Regions from separate parts of the Homo sapiens genome. Here region 2 is linked to region 1. The links are contacts of gene promoters, found by promoter capture Hi-C in blood cells and fetal thymus (Javierre and others, 2016). All regions are on one chromosome and are shown on one strand. Each heading gives the region's core, a stretch centred on a gene start or on the middle of the fragment in contact. The rest is flanking DNA. Distances are from core to core; before and after follow the strand shown.

Evidence for each region. Contacts are between HindIII fragments. The CHiCAGO score rates a contact against its expected background, and 5 or more counts as called.
Region 2: a fragment that was not itself captured here is called in contact with the fragment with the promoter of DHX36 in region 1 in 2 of 17 cell types (M1 macrophages and M0 macrophages); the score reaches 6.6 in M1 macrophages.

What each region holds. Positions count from the first base shown.
Region 1 is chr3:154,322,425-154,326,038 of GRCh38, forward strand. It overlaps DHX36 (DEAH-box helicase 36), which reads right to left and starts at 2,063. Exons shown (of 25, transcript NM_020865.3): 1 at 1,750-2,063. The coding sequence starts at 1,992. RefSeq lists an enhancer at 1,956-2,250. The HindIII fragment of the contact is 15,842 bases long and covers 1-3,614 here.
Region 2 is chr3:154,728,374-154,732,076 of GRCh38, forward strand. No RefSeq gene overlaps it. Among named protein-coding and RNA genes, the nearest start is that of GPR149, 300 kb to the left of the region's middle. The HindIII fragment of the contact is 1,340 bases long and covers 778-2,117 here.

The DNA.
Region 1 (3,614 bases), core at 813-3,312:
AGTTAGAAGGCAAGAACAGAAAACAAACAGTGGCTTGATCTATGGTAACTATTCTGGAGGTAAGTGGTTAGATTGGGATATATTAACAAGGCAGAGATTTGCTGAAATGAAGGGGAAGAAGCAAAGATAAATCTCATTTGGCCTTGCCAAGTGAATAAATGGTCGTGTCACCACTAAAAGGAGGATGGGAACGCAAGTAGAAATGAAAAGTTCCATTCATAACATCCACTGCACAACTGGCTATACCCTTCATGTGGAAACAATAATGAACATTTTTTCCTGACTTATTTAACTTTTCATCTGTTTAGGTATTATTTTCTCAGCTAGACTGTAAGCTCTTTGAATACCACATTTCTTCAAGTCCCTGGAGCAATATGCATAAAACCTTGTTTCAAACAGAGCCTTAATAAATAAAAGTTGTAAAGTTACTTAGACGTCCGTATCCTGATTTTCAAGCCAGTATGCCCAACGAAAAAGTTAATTTGGGGCTGTAAAAGAAATGGATTTGTTTTTTAAAGAAAAGTTTAAATTATGAAGATAAATGGATAAGGCCCCCAAAACACCTGAATGAACATGACATGGTTAAAAGAAATAAAAAGAAATGGAACGGTTTAAAAATAGTAGTCTAGGCCTGGCGTGGTGGCTCACGCCTGTAATCCCAGCACTTTGGGAGGCCGAGTTGGGTGGATCACCTGAGGTCAGGAGTTCGAGACCAACCTGGCCAACATGGTGAAACCCCGTCTCTACTAAAAATACAAAAATTAGCCGGAGGTGGTGGCGGACGCCTGTAATCCCAGCTACTCGGGAGGCTGAAGCAGGAGAATCGCTTGAACTTGGGAGGCGGAGGTTGCAGTGAGCTAAGATCGTGCCACTGCACTCCAGCCTGGGCGACAGAGTGAGACCCTGTCTTAAAAAAAAAAAAAGTTGCCTAAATGATGATCTAATTACACTCTATAATACATTTTATAAGGTGCTTTTAAAAAGTCACCAAAGGCCTATACTAAGAAAGTTCCTGCTTAATGATAAAAATTATTTTTTATTAGAATTTTATTTACTAGTCACTCGGAGAACTTTGTTTCCCTTACTACAGATCTTTAAGACACAAATCAACCTGACAATCACCTGAAGAGAGGAGAGTAAGCCAAATCATCTCTGGAGATTCCTTTCATTTTCCTTTTCAAAGAGAATCTGCTCATCAATAGAAATTTCTCCACCCCAACATAAAAAACAAAAACCTAGGTTTGCAGATAATTTTAACACTAATAATAAAAGCTGGACTATTTTTCTGAATGATCCACATCCAAAACAGTGTCTGCCTGCTTTTGTTCCGCGCAAACCTATCTCAAATGTAGAAAGGTCGCTATGTGCTTCTTCACCAGGCAAAGACCTTAAAGTGACAATTATTATTCTAAGGGAAAGGACGGCCAGAGATACGACAACGACACTCCTAATAAAGTTAATTTCGGTTGGAACGTGAACTTAACATTTGCTTTGTCACAGTTCTCAAGTCCTTTAAGCAAAGTATATATTCAGCCTGCATAAATCCTGCCTGTTTTTGGTCAGATGAGCATGGCTAATGTTACGCAGTACACCCGCTACGGGGAGCGCCAGCATAATATATTTGCGCCTCATTTACATTTCACAAAACACGTGCATCACTTAAGAAACAAAACCAAGAAAAAGGGGGCAGCGGGAGAGAGAAGAAAACCTGTGCTGCCTCATCCTCTCCACTACTGAATCCGAGATTACCTCTTGCCTCTCCGCTTCCTTGTTCTTCTGCCCCTGTTTTTTCGCGTACCACATGCCGATTTCGCGGCCTTTCAGGTGCCCGGGATGCCGGCCCCTGCCGCCTCGACCACCCCCTCCGCCGCCGCCGCCTCCTCCGGAGCCTCGGTTACCTCCATGACCCCCTGCTGGCCCCCCTCCATAGCCCCCACCGGAGCTGCGGGGACCCCCATCACGGCCCCAGTTCTGATGGTAGTCATAACTCATTGTCCTGGCAGACTACAACCCGTCAGAACCAGCAACCGCTGGAAATGGCGTCCGGGCCCGGAAGCCACTGTGCGCCCACTTCCGTTTTGCTTCCGTAGCACCGCACAAGAGGGCGGGCCATTTAGCGTCACAAGCAGTGGTTTCTGGTGACGTCACGGGAGGACGACCCCGGTGGTCTGGAGGGTGGCAGGGATCAGGTTCTGTCTGAGCCCCCGAGTTGTTTATCTTTGTACCTCTGGAGCAACAGCCAGCCAAAGGCTCGTAGATTTTCTTTCCCTAGGCCCAGCAAGTGAGCCAATAGCTTTTGGTTTTTACTTTCTTATTCCTGGTAAATCCGCAGTTTTTTTGCACTTAGGTCCTAGGGTAGTAAACGTTGATTGAAACAAAAGAACCCTTGGATCAATTCGCCGTCTTCTAAAGAAAAGTCTCTAAAAAATGAGTTCTTCTAGTCTTGAAAACAGCCTGACAACTATTCAAATATGTAATTTAAAATCCCCTTACCTCCTTGAAAGTGTTGTCACTATTTAGTACGTTTATCCAATAGTGTTAAGATGAGCGTGTCTACCCAAATTCGGTGCAGAGCTCTTAGGCAATGTAAATAAACTACTTTGAAGATTCATGTGTTCATATGAAGCCACATACTGTTTATTAACCAGCACACTGAGTGTTTTGTACAAGCTGTTCTTGAATAATCAAGTAATTGGGCCACACAGGCTTGGATGTACACCAGGAGATATCCAGCTCATGTTACAGTTAACTGATGTAAAGGTGCTGGGAATACTCACTGAACAAAGCAAGTATGGCATGAGCTTTTATTTGCCTACAGTCTTAAGGGAAAGACAAAGGCTATCTTTGTGCAGTGAATTAAGAAAGGGAAATGCTGTATGCCAGGAAGGGGTCTACAATACACCATTGTGGCCTAAAAATTATTTTGAGCAAAGACATTTGAGTTTCTGAAATCTACCTGTCTAAATGCAGAACCACACGGAGGAATTCAAATCAAGCTCCTCCCTGGGAGGGAAACCCAGGAAGACTGACTCTTATCACTGGAGGTTAGAAGCTGGCAACACACTTGAATAGACATTGTCACAAAGCTATCATATCTGGCATCTGTTTTAAGGTGTCATTTATTTTTACTAAAAGTCATTTGTTTTTTCCATACGTGCTGTTTTCCCCTTTCCTTCCCTTTATAAGATGGTAGATAAGTCAGAACTCTACCTCCCTGAATCACCTTTTTCTGTGAACTCTATTATGTATGTGGTTAAGTCTGTCTTTTCTTTTGCTAATCTGTTTTGTCACTTTAAGTCTGGGGCCTGCAAACACTGAATCTAAGAAAGTAGACAAAAAGTATTTCCTCCCTAAGAGCCAAGAGATACTACAGCAAAAGAATTTAATTTTGGAGTTAGGTGAGTTATGCAACAACTTTTGAGATAAGTAGACTTTTGCCAGACTAATGGGCAGAAGAAAAGTATGGCAGGTGAAAGGAACAATGTGTAAAGACAGATAATGATGTGAGACATCGGAGAACTTAAAACAACTACCCTGAATCTTAAAGCCTGATGGGGAAGGCCAAAGAGGTAGATAGGGGTCTGATTATGGAAAACTTATGTGCCACTTAAAGA
Region 2 (3,703 bases), core at 198-2,697, 410 kb after region 1:
TAGGGGAGTATTTAGCAGGAAATGACTTCTGGGTGCTGAAATAGTGAATATAGGATTGTTCCTCTTCCAGAGCCCTACAAGCTGCTTATACCTTTTGTGGATGATGGTACAGATTGCCAAGTTTAGTCAACTACAGAGATAAACAGAGAAGTGAGAAAGGAAGGGGGAGGGGGGTGTTGGCTAAAAAACTACCATTGAGTACTATGCTCACCACCCGGGTAATAGAATCACCTGTATCCCAAACCTCAGCATCAAGCAATATACCCATATAACAACCATGCACATATACTGGCTGAATCCAAATTTTTTTTAAATAAGATTTTTAAAAGAAAATAATATAATTTAAATAATTTTTCTTCAAAGGAAAGAAAAGTTAAACCTGCCTCATCAGAACTTTGGGTGTGCAAGTCAAAAATTTAAAAGATATTTTAAAGTCTACAAATCTAATTACGAGCCCCTGTCTCCCTGAGTTGGTGTAAAGTTCAATTTGGAGTTCTGTAGTCTCTGGATTCTCATGAAGGGCCAAAACGTTAAGAAGGCCCCATTGGGCATTGATATGCTCGCCACTGGTTTTATCACCAAGATAACTTCTGTATCAGCCTGCATTTTCTTTCCATGGCTCGTGTTCCAGTGATCTCAATTATGCTTGGGGCATAAAAATTGATAGTTCAATAAATAATTCTTCCATATTGTTAAAAATGTTTTTAGGTGTTAGGTCTTTGAGGAGTACTGCTCCTCAAATATTAAAGACAGTGTGGTATTTATAATATTATCTTAAGCTTTTCCTATAGATTACAATATAGATGATTGGAAAAGCAAATTCACTACATATGGTTTTTAGTTTGTCACTAAATTTACTGTCAGTCTTTTTGAATGGGCGTGGTCACAAATTTAGTTGCTCTTACGTTTGATTCTCTGAAATACTGGAGAATGTTTAATATTTCTTTATCCTCAAATCAATAAAGCCGAATAAGTGTGATATTATGTTGAAATAACCTGCTATGGGCACTGGAGAAAGGAAGCCATAGCTCTGATCCCAGAACTCAGTACAAACTGCACAAGACCATCCCCAACCCAAGTGTCATAAGGGATAGTAATGACCCTTATTGAAGATCTTGCTGTTGGGCCTGTAACTGACCCCCCTGAAATTGTGTTTAAAATGCTGTATTTATTTGCATTTCTTTGGGGAATTCGTTGATAGCTTTTCTTAATATCTCAAAACTCCCATAAGAGCCCTATATAATTGCAATATTTTTCCAAGGGTCCCCCATGCTTAGTGGATTATCATGCCTGATTATGTTACTCAGCACTCTTAAGTGTGAATTTATTCTCAGACAATGATCCTTATAAAACTGATGATTAAATTGGATGAAGCAGCATTATTTTCGCTAGCAGAATCTAGAGGTCTGAAAATGTGCTTGCAGTTCTTGCAGTTGCTGACATGAATTCTTTTGGATTCTGAGGTGATTTAGTGTTTTTGTCCAGAAAACAAGAATCACATATTGTTCATCTTTCTAAGCCATAAAAAAGAATTGTGATGCATAACGATATTAAAATTCTATGAAAGAAACATATGACTGCAAAGTATTTCTGTTACCAAGGACTCAGAGTCACACCTCTGTTATTTTGCTTTTATGCCAAGGAGAACAAGGTCATTAAATGCAGCCCAGACCCACATATTGCATTCCCACTGGCTCAAGAGGATGCTGCCTGCAAAGAATGTAGGACAATTTAGTAAAACTGTTAAGAGCTAGCTGAAAAAGAATTTTAAAATGCAGAGGGTAATTTGACAAAATTGAAATCTTTTATAATAGCACTGCAAAGATTAAAATAATTGTAGCACAAGATAATTCTGTCACACTTTATCATTCTGTTCTTAACATCTGGAGATGTTATGAGGTAGATTTGGCATTCTACTATAATTTCTACCAGCATGTGTTATTATTTCTTTCCATCAACCCTGCAAGGCAAAGCTCACCCAAGTGCATTAAGTCATTCTCTGGCACATGATTTCTTTCAGTTATTTTAGAGCAGGAAATTTAATGGTACTCTAGCACTCTCCTGTGACCAGCTGAGCATAACACCTCCAGGCACTCTATGCCTTCGTCTCATAAGTAAGCTTAATGACATTAATTTGGCAAAGCAATCTAAAATTCTTTATAATCTGTCTCTCTCCTCTTTACTCATGCTTGCATAGGTATATACACCCACATCTGACTGAGTTATAAAATGCTTTCTAGTTGAAAGCAAAATATTTTCCTTTCATTGACACTGGAATGATAATTACTGCACTGTTGGTCATTAAACCAATAACTCTATAGGGAAATACCGCGATGAATGAACAAATTCCTTCTAAGACTTTTAATCAAAATATCTTCAATGAATATGAGTATGTGTCATAGTAAAGAATATGAGTATGTGTCATAGTAAAGTTGTTATTGAATTGCACATGTACATTTAAGATATTTACTATAACGTGGCTGGTCTATTTTCAAATAGCAACAAAAGCAAGATACAGAAAATGATGATTCATTATTCTGCCAAAGTCCTAGAGTGCTGAAATTTGCAGCCTTAGATTTAAAAAAGCAATATTCTCAGGCATTCTGTAAATACTCAGTGAGCTGAAAATGGGCCCAATTTCTTCCACACTTCCAATAGTCTGTTATCTTACTCAGATTTTATATAGCAAAAAAAAAAAAAAGGGTGGGGGGTGACTCTGCTACTGTGGAAAGCAGCTTGGAGATTTCTCAAAGAACTTAAAAAGATAACTACCATTTGACCCAGTAACCCTATTACTGGATGTATATCCAAAAGAAAACAAATTGTTCTAACAAAGAAACACATACACTCACATGTTCATCACAGCATTATTCACAATAACAAGGACATGGAATCAACCTAGGTGCATCAATGGTGGGTTGGATAAAGAAAGAGTGGTATACATACACCATGGAATACTACACAGCCATAAAAAAGAATGAAATCATGTCCTTTGAAGCAACATGGAAAGAGCTGAAGGCCATTATCCTAAGTGAATTAACACAGAAACAGAAAACCACATACTACATGTTCTCACCTATAAATGGAGCCTAATATTGGGTACTCATGGACATAAAGAGAACAATAGAAGCAGGAACTACTAGAAAAGGGAAGGAGGAATGGGGATAGGGTTGAAAAACTCATTATTGGGTCACAGGATCATTTGTACCCCAAAACTCAGCATCACACAGTTACCCAGCTAACAAACCTGCACATGTACCCTCCGAATCTGAAATAAAAATTGGAAAAAATATGGCTTTACAAAAGTACACCTAGATAGGAAGAATAAGTTCTAGCATTGAATAGCACTATGGGGTGACTGTAATTAACAAAAATTAATTGTGTATTTTCAACTAGCTAGAAGAATAGATTTTGAACATTCCCAACACAAGGAAATAATACATGCTTGAGGTGATGAATATACTAATTACCCTGATTTGAGATCGTTACATATTGTATACCTGTGTCAAAATAGCACACTGAACCTTGTAAATATGTATAATTATGTGTCAATTGAAAATAATAAAAGCAAAAAAAAGTAAGCCAAAAGTGACTTTAGGTTAGTTAACATTTCATCAACTTTTCTATACTAACAAATCTAAAAATGTAAAATAAAAAATACATACATTTAGTCATCAAATTACTTTGTCTCTTGTTTCTTTTC